Regions from separate parts of the Homo sapiens genome. Here region 2 is linked to region 1. Evidence: promoter capture Hi-C in 16 types of primary human blood cells and fetal thymus (Javierre and others, 2016). All regions are on one chromosome and are shown on one strand. The core of a region is centred on a gene start or on the middle of the fragment in contact, and the rest is flanking DNA. Distances in the headings are between cores, read along the strand shown.

The links. Contacts are between HindIII fragments. The CHiCAGO score rates a contact against its expected background, and 5 or more counts as called.
Region 2: a contact is called between a fragment that was not itself captured here and the fragment with the promoter of SLC39A6 in region 1, in 1 of 17 cell types (naive CD8 T cells). The highest score is 5.5, in naive CD8 T cells.

The regions. Positions count from the first base shown.
Region 1 is chr18:36,124,471-36,130,589 of GRCh38, reverse strand. SLC39A6 (solute carrier family 39 member 6) reads left to right here and starts at 1,250. Exons shown (of 10, transcript NM_012319.4): 1 at 1,250-1,476; 2 at 3,574-4,371; 3 at 5,890-6,070. The coding sequence starts at 3,583. ELP2 (elongator acetyltransferase complex subunit 2) reads right to left here and starts at 691. Exons shown (of 22, transcript NM_018255.4): 1 at 519-691. The coding sequence starts at 656. RefSeq lists enhancers at 440-649, 441-946, 810-999, 1,030-1,324, 947-1,452. The HindIII fragment of the contact is 4,684 bases long and covers 1-1,772 here.
Region 2 is chr18:35,025,382-35,031,500 of GRCh38, reverse strand. It overlaps a transcript of MAPRE2 not described here. Among named protein-coding and RNA genes, the nearest start is that of MAPRE2, 13 kb to the left of the region's middle. The HindIII fragment of the contact is 2,691 bases long and covers 1,862-4,552 here.

The DNA.
Region 1 (6,119 bases), core at 1-2,500:
TCCCCTATGACCTTTCCCCCAAACTGACACTTTCTCTAAAATGTCCATTCCCGTAGCTAAAACACAGGTAACATTTCCTTGAAATTCAATACAACAAAAGTTCATTAACCAAAACTGAAGGAAATACTGAAATGAGATTGCACCTGTGGGATGATGGTTTTAATCTACATATAAATTTCAATTGTTTTAAAACCCAAATTGATTAACGGTACTACAGTTCCCAAGGAAGGCTTCAGGTAAGATGCTTATCATTCGGGTTTCTGCGTGGGACTAACAGGTTACTAGCAGCTCATGGGCAGCAATGACCCTAGGATGACGCCACGCGTGAGACGGCAAAGGGTGAGGGGTGAGGAGCGAGTCCGGCAGGTCCACTGGAGACTCCGAGCCCAAACCCCGCTCCCCTGAGCCGACCCGACTCGCCTCCTAGGTCTGGGGCGGCAACTAACAGCGCGCCCGGAGCACGTCCACAGGTTCAACCCGAAAAGCACAAGGGTCGGCCGTCCAGCGACCTCTCTTACCAGGGGGTCATAGAGCACCACGGAGCAGGACGTGCCAAAGGCCAGAAGTCCTCTGGGCCCAGAGCTCCAGTTCAGGACTCCCCGCACCCGGTTTGGGCAGCAAAACACGTGAGAAGTCTCCAGCACGGGTGCCACCATGTCGCCAACTGGTCAGCCGCACAAACAAGAGACGCGCACTTCCGCCCTCGGAGCGGAACTACTAGGGTGGTTTCTCCTGAGGCATCACCCAGTCCACGTTTCGCAGCCAGCCGAGGGCCAGACGGAGGCAGCCCCGCCCCCCTGAGACTCTCCGTTCCCACCGCAGGCTGGAACCCCTGTGCAAGGCCGCCGCTTTGCTAGCTCTGCTCTTGGACCGTGGCCCCGCTCCGCGAACGAGCCAGGCCTTTGTCTCAAGAGCGAAATCCGACCCGAGTGGCTCGGGACCCTCCCGAAGGACCCGGGGCTCATGTGCCTGGGGCAGCGTCAGAAACATCTCGCTGCCCCTTACGACCCGGCTCCCAGCAGCAGCCAGGGCTGGCCCCGGGGGCGCTGGCTAGCGAGTAGGGCCTCGAGGAAATGACCCCCAACTGCTTACAATGCGCTAGGGCCGCGCCACGCCCCCGCGGCGTCGGCGAACACACGGAAAAGCGGATCCGTCTGCGGAGCCGGGTTCCGGGGTCGCACTGCGCATGCCCTGCAGTCCTGGGCGAAGGGGGCGGTGGTTCCCCGCGGCGCTGCGCGCGGCGGTAATTAGTGATTGTCTTCCAGCTTCGCGAAGGCTAGGGGCGCGGCTGCCGGGTGGCTGCGCGGCGCTGCCCCCGGACCGAGGGGCAGCCAACCCAATGAAACCACCGCGTGTTCGCGCCTGGTAGAGATTTCTCGAAGACACCAGTGGGCCCGTTCCGAGCCCTCTGGACCGCCCGTGTGGAACCAAACCTGCGCGCGTGGCCGGGCCGTGGGACAACGAGGCCGCGGAGACGTGAGTCTTTCAGGTCCGGGAGCAGGGCGGCTGGGAGGGGAGCTCCTCAGGCCAGACAGGCGTGGCGGGGTAGGGGTGGTTCTGCGGAGAACCGGATCCTGCGGACCGGGCAGGGGGGCTACAGAAAGAGGATGCTGGGGGGAGCCCGCCGCAGGCGCCCACTCACCCTAGAGAGCCGGACTTCTTAAGGTGCTCAGATGGGCTTCGGGGTGCAACGGAGGATTTTTTGAGGAAAAGATCCGTACTTTTCATCCCATATTCGAAGAAGGGACTGACGTGTTTAGAAATAAAAAGCTTTTAGAAGAGAGCTTTGTGCCCTCTTTTCCGTTTTCTGTACTCGCCTTTTTCTCTAAGGCCCTTCCCTTCTGCTTTCCTTTTTCCTCCAGCACACACCAACTTGCAGGAAAGGAGATCCTTCAACGGGTCCACGACCGCGCTCAGCATCCTCCCTGGAGAAAGGCTCGGAGCTGTCCCCTGTGCTAGTCCCCTCCCACCCCGCTCCTCGCCTCTCTCCTGGGAATGATTTCTAAATGTTTATCTTTTACCTAGTAAAAGAATTCCCGAAACTTCAAGCCCCAAAGATTCCTCTTTCAGGAGCCTCGTTCTACGCCGTACCTCCATTTCCCACTGTTCCCTGTATGATACCTCGCACTTGTGCAACACATGAGTTTAACGAGTACTTGTAATATACATTCCTTCATGTGTTTTCCTCCTTCGCCTTGCAAAATAGGTTTTACCGGTATTTTAGATAAGGTAATGAATGCGAGAGCCCTGTCCAAAGAACAGCTGACCGTGGTAGAGCTGGATAGCCCCATGCTCTTGCTTAGTTGTAAACTTGACGTCTGCGTCTTTTGCTGGAGATGTGAGTTTGACCACCATCACCTCCACCGTTGGTGCTGGACATCCTGCTGGATCTGAATTAACTGAATTCTGGCTCTGCTTAACTGAATTCTGCTTTTCAAGCTCCAACTCAATTGCTTCCTCCTCTTTGGGGCACAGGCCTTTGGTTCCAAACACTACTGTGGATGATTAACAGCCTGTGATTAAATGTTGACTGGTTTGTAGTAACACAAGGATGCTACAGTGAGTTTTTCATGAAGTTCAGTTTACTTTAAGAATTCTATGTATGGACATAATGTGTCTGATTCATTGTCAAGTCGGAAAAAAGATTCAATGTGTATTTAAAGTATACACTTATTTGAGGCTGGGCGTAGTGGTCACGCCTGTAATCCCAGCACTTTGGGAATTGGAGGTGGAGGATCTCTTGAGGCCAGGAGTTCAAGACCAACCCGGACAACATAGTGAGACCTCGTCTCTAGAAAAAAAAAAAAAAAACTTTAAAAAAAAAATTAAGTATACATGTATTTGAGTATGCATAGAAAATATCCTGAGGGATACACTGGCAAAATTGAGCACCTTTGAGGATTGTGATTGGGGAAAGGGGTCTTAAATGGGCTTGTATGTAAGGAGAGTGTATTAGTTTAAAATTTTTTAAATATGTGAATTCTGAGATTATTATTTCTATTTTTTGGTGTTTGAAGGTTATTTTATGAAATGATGGTGATGATCAAGGTAGCTAGATTTCATTTCGTTCTTTTTTTTTTTTGAGACAGGGTTTCACAATGTTGCCCAGGCTGGTCACAAACTCCTGGCCTCAGGTGATCTGCCTGCCTCAGCCTCCCAAAGTGCTGGGATTATAGGCATGAGCCACCACACCCAGCCTAGATTTAATTATGAATCATTGGCCTCAATGATTCAAATAATCGTTCAAATAAATTCTCAACTTCAGTAAGCAGTTGATGGCTGTGGCCACATGGATCTCCCTTGTCTCTGAATTACTATTGCTTTTACAGTGCTAATGGCAGTCTCTTAGCACTCAGCTCTTCTCCAGTTGTTTCATGTGTTTTAGGAATGCAAGGGTAGAGCCTAGGACTCTAGTTCTTTCCATCTTCACAGTACCTAGCGTCACACTGGTCACACCACATGATGCTCTGGCAACTTTGATTATTTGATTACACATTAATTTTCAGTATGAGGTTTCTTAATTCAATTTGTTTTAGAAGTGAGTCAAGAATTTTTTTTTCCTGTCTTTTCTAGGAAGGCGCAATGGCGAGGAAGTTATCTGTAATCTTGATCCTGACCTTTGCCCTCTCTGTCACAAATCCCCTTCATGAACTAAAAGCAGCTGCTTTCCCCCAGACCACTGAGAAAATTAGTCCGAATTGGGAATCTGGCATTAATGTTGACTTGGCAATTTCCACACGGCAATATCATCTACAACAGCTTTTCTACCGCTATGGAGAAAATAATTCTTTGTCAGTTGAAGGGTTCAGAAAATTACTTCAAAATATAGGCATAGATAAGATTAAAAGAATCCATATACACCATGACCACGACCATCACTCAGACCACGAGCATCACTCAGACCATGAGCGTCACTCAGACCATGAGCATCACTCAGAGCACGAGCATCACTCTGACCATGATCATCACTCTCACCATAATCATGCTGCTTCTGGTAAAAATAAGCGAAAAGCTCTTTGCCCAGACCATGACTCAGATAGTTCAGGTAAAGATCCTAGAAACAGCCAGGGGAAAGGAGCTCACCGACCAGAACATGCCAGTGGTAGAAGGAATGTCAAGGACAGTGTTAGTGCTAGTGAAGTGACCTCAACTGTGTACAACACTGTCTCTGAAGGAACTCACTTTCTAGAGACAATAGAGACTCCAAGACCTGGAAAACTCTTCCCCAAAGATGTAAGCAGCTCCACTCCACCCAGTGTCACATCAAAGAGCCGGGTGAGCCGGCTGGCTGGTAGGAAAACAAATGAATCTGTGAGTGAGCCCCGAAAAGGCTTTATGTATTCCAGAAACACAAATGAAAATCCTCAGGAGGTAAGATGAGTGCTGTTCATTATTTTAATATACCTGTGTGTCTGTCCTGTCTCTGCTACTCTATCTCTAGTTATGAGGAGTTTAAAGTAAAAGTAAAATGTTGAAGTTATTGAAAAGGGAATTTCCACCTTCTCAGCAAGGCACTTGCCACAAAGCATGCCTGCTATGTTGTAAACATTCCCAATTCAGAACTTAGGGAACAGTTCTTTTGGTGAGCGTAGTGCTGCCTCCTACAATTTTTTCTAATACAGAATATAAAATATGTAGAGAAAGATATCAAGGCTATCTTTAGAGAAAGTCTATAAAGGTGAACATTATTAATAAAAAATAGAAAATGAGGGGTTGAAAGCAGGAGTTAGAATCCATATTGTAGGGAAAGGTGTGACTGAAGGGGCTGAAGACTACTGAGAATACCACTGCTGCCTCCTTGACAGAAGGTCCACCATGACTTGAGGAATGATTGAAATTGGAGCAGTTTCCATGAATGTCATGCTGGACAAGGGAAAAGTTGGGACAGTGAGGTTCTGAGTTCATGTGGTTTTTCTAGAGTAGACTTCCAGACTGTACGTAATTCACCTTGGCTGAGAGATGTCAAGAACAGGGAATTATGTCAAAAAAAAAAGGAACAAGGAATTAGTTGATACAGTTTAATAAGCAAAACTTTAGTACTTCATTCAAACCAGCATGTGACTGTACTAATTCTGGACTAATCCTAGTAGTGGCCATAGCCATAGCAGCCCTGGTGATAAAGTTTGCTCTGAGTTGTACCAACTGAGAATTGTGGTGGGAGTTGAAAATGTCTTTACAGAAGATGAGAAACTGGTACTAAAGCCAGTTTGGGGTTTTTTTGTTGTTTTTTTTTTTTTTTCTTTTTTGGCTGGGGGAGAGATTGCACAGAGGAGTATCTTCAAACTAAGTTTGTCATCTAATTAAATAGTTGAAAACATCTGCCTGCCGGTACAGGTTTGTTTTATTAACCAGCCTTGCCCTCCACAAGAATAATCTGCATAATTTAATATCCTCTCATTGCAGAGCATTACTTTGCCAGGTATGTAGACAGAACTGAGTTTTTGCAAGTAGAGTCATTACTAGAAGAGAGGCATGTCTTGGACTTGTTTAGGCCAAGTAGGATAGCGTTAGTACTGAAGCAACATATTTCTCAATCTCTGATGAGCCCCATTTTGAAATTAAAGCTCATTTCCTTAATACGTTTATACAGTGAGTTAACAGGCTTGTGAATCTCCATTTATCCTCATGCTTGTTCCACCTGAGGCTTTCTCCCTAGGTGACTCGTGATGTACTGCTTCTCTGATGAGGTAGAAGAGGTGGGATACCACTGTGGTGACATAGTATCGCCAGGTAGCTGGAGGCAAGTTCCAAAGTGCTCAAAACAGAAGTTGATTTTAATTTTCATTAACTCGAGAAAACGAAGTAGCATTAGTAAAAAAGGGTATTGTGTCATCAGACTACTCTAATGGGGATGGCTTTTGGTGATTTTCACTGCTTTGTTTCTTTCAGTGTTTCAATGCATCAAAGCTACTGACATCTCATGGCATGGGCATCCAGGTTCCGCTGAATGCAACAGAGTTCAACTATCTCTGTCCAGCCATCATCAACCAAATTGATGCTAGATCTTGTCTGATTCATACAAGTGAAAAGAAGGCTGAAATCCCTCCAAAGACCTATTCATTACAAATAGGTAAAATTGCCTTTTTTATGTAAAAACAATTTCAGTAGATTCATTTATA
Region 2 (6,119 bases), core at 1,958-4,457, 1.1 Mb after region 1:
AGGTTTCAGTCTATTAAACAAAAATGTACTTTTGAATTATACCATCTGGCTAAATTTAAGAGCTTTAAATGTGTTTTCCATAAAAATACAATGTGATAAAAGTTATAATGAAAAGTGTATTAAGTATTAGGAATATAGAAAAGAAAGTAGTCAGGCCTGGGGACACTAGAAAAGCTTCATTAAGATAGTAATATTTTAATTAGTCCTCAATCATTCATTCTACAAATATTTATTGAGAACTTACTATGTGCTAGGAACAATTCTAGACATCAGAGATGCAGAAATTTGTAGACAAAATTCCCTGAACTTACACTTGAGTGTATGAGCAAGTGTATGTGGTAGGGTCAGGAGACAGACAATATATAAGTAAAATATGTAGTGTGTCAGATGGTGGCAAATGCTATAGAGACAACTAAAGCAAGGAAGGAGGACTTGGACTGCAGAGGAAGGGTGTTGTAATTTTAAATGGGGTGACCAGGGTAGACATTCCTGAAAAGATAATCTTTAATCGATGACCTGAGAGAGGTGAGGGACATAGACCTGTGATATCAGAAGAATATTTCAGGTAGAGCCAACAGAAAGTGCAAAGGCCCTGAGGTAGGAGCATGATTTGTTCAAGAAACATTAAGGAAGTCAGGTCACATGTATGTAGCACAGTGAGTGTGAATGTGTGCGTATTGTGGGGATGGGAGAGATAACTGTAGAAGATAAGGTCAGAAAGATCACAGAGAAACCAGAATGTGCAGGGCTTTTAAAGTCTGTTGTAAAGAACTTGGCTTAAAACCAAAGTTAGAAACCAGGCATTTGCAGGAGTGTTAGTAGTGGCAACAGAGATGTGGAATATTCTCTAATCACATTAATAGCAACACCTAATATTTGAATACTTTTTATGGGCCAAGTGCTATGCTTAACAATGAGGAGGTACTTTATTCTCACAAGAAAGGGGGCTATTCTAAGTCCCAATTGTCACAGGAGGTAACTAGTTCAATAACTTAGCCAAATAACCAGACAGGAAGTGGCAGAGCTGAGCACAAACACACTTGCCAGATGTCAAACATGTCATTCTTTTTCCCTAGCTCAGTCTACCTTCCACTAAGGTCTGATTAACCTGGAAGGAAGAATGCAGAATCCAGGGTGGGGAGTGGCAGGGATGAGATAGCTGATGGTTGCAGAGGCAAGAGACTGCTGCCATAAAACGGCACTTCCGTGTAGGAAGCAAGGAAATAAAAACATACAAGGGCTGAGAGACAGAGAGAATAAAAAGGACCCAGGGATGGGAGGCTGTACAGGATAGCAGTATCCATGAGGGTGAGAGATTGAAAGAAATGGAGGGAGAGGAGCTGTAAATTATGGTTAAGAAAAAGGGAGGGGGAAGGAGGAAGAAATGCTAGGATTTGGTGTTAGCAGTATATGTGATTGATAGAGAAAAAAATAATTTTCTTGTCCTTATATAGTGATTAGCTATTTTATTTCTCAGTAAGCGTCAGCTAGCAATGTCCATTTCTTTGATACCTTCTGGAGGGAAAGGAAACTGCAGGCATTTTTTTGGTATTTGTATTCAAAGCTACAATCTGCTTTCATTTTCACTATGCCAAGACTGTTATAATTCAACCATCCAGATACAGACATGTCTATTTGAGTGCTCTCGTTAAAACGTGTCTATGTCCAATTTTATGAAATTCCTCTATTTCCTTTCTCTATTTTATTTCCATCTTAAAATAAAATGCATCTTGTTGAAGTGACTGCATAGGACAGCTAAAAGGGATTAAAAGGCACCTTGGGCTCAGTTGGGTGGCAAGAGAAATGAAGAGACTCCAAGTACTGCTAACAAATAAATTATCTTGCAGACGATTCAGAAGCTTCCCAGAGAAGATTTCCTTAGGGTTCTTAAAAATCAACTAACTCACTGGGCTTTATTTCTGACTTTGATATTAAAGAGTGCAAGCTGAGTGGCAACTCCTTAATATACATACAAAGGAAGTCAGGAGAAAGTGGGGCAATGGTCATTCCATCAGGTACCAGGGACTTCCAGAGTTCCAGAGCTACTCAGAACCCAGGCCATCAAGTGGCAACCAGGGACATTGGAAGGAAGCGTCTTCCTGAGCCTGGAACTTCTCTGTCAAGTCTGGTGTGTACCATGGCAGAGCTATGGCTTCTGGATGGCTCCTCGACAGCGTGTCAAGGGAACATGAGGCCGGCAGCTGGAAAGCAGTGTGAGTAATGGAAGAGAAATTCCTCATTTTCTGACCTCATCCAAATAAAATTTTTAAAAAGAAAATTAAAGCAGCTTATTTCATTAGGAAAAAAAATGCAACTGGAAATCATGAAGTAAGACTAAGTTTCCCATCAGAAATGTTTTAATTAGAGCTTATGTTTTGTTTCCTCAAGTGCTTAGACACCAAGCATCTTCCTATTCTCAATTCACATTGACTCAACATGTACAGAAAGTAGAAATGAAGGGTCCAACTGCATAGTGTAGCACATGAAAACATAATGGGCCTCCTTTAAGAAGCCTCCATTTAACTTCTACATAAAGGAATCAGCCCCCTAGGAAAACCAGAGGTCTTAGTCTTAATATGTGAGACATAATGAGTTAATAGTTAGCTGATAGATCTAGAATCAATGCTTGGAATGAACTTCTCTACACAGCCTGTCTTCACGCCATTCCCACCAGCCCACAATTCCAGTCTCACTGGGACAGATCCTATCTGCCTTCAATGATGCAATGAAATCATGAATGAGAAATAATGGCTTGCAGTATAAAGAGCATGCACAGTGAACATTATTTTGTTTGCTCCTCCCTCTTTCGGGAAATTATTTCTTCAATCCTTGTGGTTGTAGCAGAGCTTGCCAAATATAATTATTCCATCCTCCAGACCCTGAGGATTGATGCAGAGATAGGCCTATGACCCAAATCAGGTCATTTAGAATAGTTCTCTAGGTTTTTCTAAAATTAGAGCTGTAATGTGTATGTGTTTGGGGGGTTGGGGGATGTTATCTTCCTTATAAAAGTTAGTACTGGGGAATTAAGAAAATATAGTATACATTATATATTTACTATATTTTGCATAGAAGAATAGCAAAATTCAGAGTTCATGGTTTTGATGCATATGCTTTGGATTTGAATCCAAGTGCTTACAAGTTGTGTAACCTTGGCCAAATTACTTAACTCCTCTAGCTTCAGCTTCTTCACCCATAAAACAGGTATAATAAGATTTGTAAGGTAACATTTTGAGATATAAACCTAGGTTCCTGCCTTGCCCCTGTGGCCATAATTTTTTCTTACCCTTCCATTCTAGAGGTTGGATTTATTTCTCCTCCCTTTGAATCATGGTGGCAGCTTTGATCAATAGATTTTGGTAGAAATGATGCCGACCAGTTCTTGACCTAGACCTTACAATGACAGGCAGCTTTTGCCTTTGTCTCTTAAAGGTCAGCTGCCCTGTGAGAAGTTCAGCTACCCTGGGACTACCATGCTGCTCTGTAAGAAGGCAGGTCTGCTGCCCTGTGAGAAGTCTAGCTACTCTGGGGGAAGTACCAACCATGTAGAGAGGCCCAGAGGGTGGGACACATGGAGAGGGAGGGGAAGAGAGGAGAGACCACAAAGAGTACCAAGGCTCCAAATATGTGACTGAGGAAGCATCCTGCATCTTCACCCACCACAGCTGACACTATATGGATATATGGATTAGAAAGGACCCACCTAACCAAGACCTTCCTGAACTCCTGGTCCACAAAACCATAATGTAGGACAAATGGTTATTTTAAGTTAATAAGTTTTGTGGTAGGCTGTTATGCATTAACAGATAACAGAAAAACCCTGTTGGTTCTCTATTGTGACTCTAAACTTGGTGGATTAAAATAGCAATAATCATTTTATTATTATCTCTTGTCATTCTGGAGGTTGACTGGGCTTGGCTAGGTGGTTGTCACCCATGGTCTCTCATGTAGCTATGGTTGGAAGGTGACTGACTGCTGAAGTCTTCATAAAGGCTTCCTCAGTCTCATGACTGGTGGCTGACGTTGCCTTTTAATTGGGGCCTCAGCTGGGGCTCTGGTTGGAACACCTATGCAAGGCTTCCCCATGTGGCCTGGGCTCCTCACAGCATGGTGGCTGGGTTCCTAGCACAAGCATCCCTAATGAGCAGGCAGAAGGGCATGGCAGTTTTAAAACCTAGTCTTGGAAGTCACAGAGCATCACTTCCATTGTATTTTGCTGGTCAGGGCTGCCACAAAGTTCCACCCAGATTCAAGAGGAAGGGCTATCAACACCACTGGTAACATAACTAGGAGGAATGTCAATCTCACACTGCAAGAAAACCTGTGGGATGGGAGAGATTGTAGTAACCCACTTTGGAAAACCTGCCACACACACCTGCTGAACCTTCTTTACTCGCTGAGTTTTCAGCATGGGGCAGGAATGCAAGAGAGGAAGAAAAGAATGAATGTTCAACTTCGGAGTTTCAAAATCAACTTGTAAGCCCATGGCAGAGAAAAAACCCTGAAGAAATGTTTATGAGCCTCAGAGTCTCATTTTCAAGTATCAAAAGCTTAAGATCTTTCAAAGATTCAGAAACTAAAGTTCGTACTATAAGCCACAAGACTACATGACTGGTTAGAGATGTTGGGTTAGGAGCTGGTGAGTGTCCTTGAAGAGGGACTCTGCCTGCTCTCCTATCCCCAGCCATGCCCATGGGAATTTGAGAGTAGAGGGAACCTGTCCTCTGCTTTATATCTGGAAACTGAGGGATGCCAAAGCCACACAGAAGGTCCCTAGTCACCTTGGCACAGGAACAGCGGGGTACAGATGCAGGTAAACTGTTTAGGGCAACAGCAGTTTTTCCACAGAGCTAGCAAATATTTTTGGGGAGGGAGAAAGAACAAACCTGACCCCATGTGGTAGTGACAAACATCAACAGAAAAGAACAGGCCTCTGCAGACTGCGCCTGTTTTCATGGGGAGGGTTGCCATGGAAGCAACTAAAAAAAAAAAGTCAAATCTCCATTCAGGTTTCCAAAAGCACCTTGTAAAAATGTGAGACTGTGGTGTGGTGTCCATATTCATCGCTGCATTCTCTCACTTGCTGAATAAGCAGGTCAGAGGCATGCACAGAAATTAGGTTGCGGCCATTGGTTTAGACAATACACAGTACATTTAATGAGGAAGCTTCTCTCCTACTTGGCTCCCTCTCCAGATCTCCTGCTTGAGCTAAACTGATAGCCAGCACTTAGCTTTGAATCCTCAGAATGTTTTTCCCTCTCTACCCATCTGTCTGATTCAGACATCATACCTGTTCATTTCACAGGGGGACAGGTATGTCCTGCCCATTCCTCTCCCGCTGCTCACACCCTGCTTCAGACACGCTCCTTCCTCTCACCTACCTCATGAGTCTCTCTAGAGAGGTTTCCTTGCTTCACAATCAATTCACATCTCACCACCAGCTCTATCTTCCCTCCTTTCATTTTTAGAAGTCTTCAGGGGTTCCCTATCATTTCAAGACAAAAATTCTAAGTTTTTCTTTTGGCACTGTAAAACCTAACTACCTTTAGAAACTTATGCCCCACCGTGTATAGAAAGAGTAAGATTGAATTTGGTTTCGGCCTAACCTGGAATGTTAGTTTTGCCACCTGGTATCAGCATAAGCAAAGCTTCCTCTGTACTTGGTAAACAAAGAGAAGAACCTGTAAACATTCCTATTTGGAATCCTTCATAAATGCTCTTGGAAGAATCTATTACTACATCTGATTATTCCACTGGACTATGTTCAGTGGAACTGCTAGACTTCTAAGCTACTGTTTGAAAATAACTTCAGCTTGCTTTATTAAAAAACTACAGAGAGGACGGCAATTTAGTGAAATGAATTCTGATGATGTAAATGTTAACAGTATCCGAGTTGTTACCTCTGAGTCCCTGTCCTCCTAGGGTGAAGAGCACATAGAGTTGGGAACATTCAGCCACGACTGTCTCATCTTTATAACTGCTTTAATTACAATCGAGTACATCATTAAAGTCAGAATCACAATGTTTTAAGCTCATTAAAATATCAGCTAAAAAATTCATAGGGGATTATTGGCTGGAAGAAATGAAAAGTTATAGCATTGCTATTTCCTATTGATGGT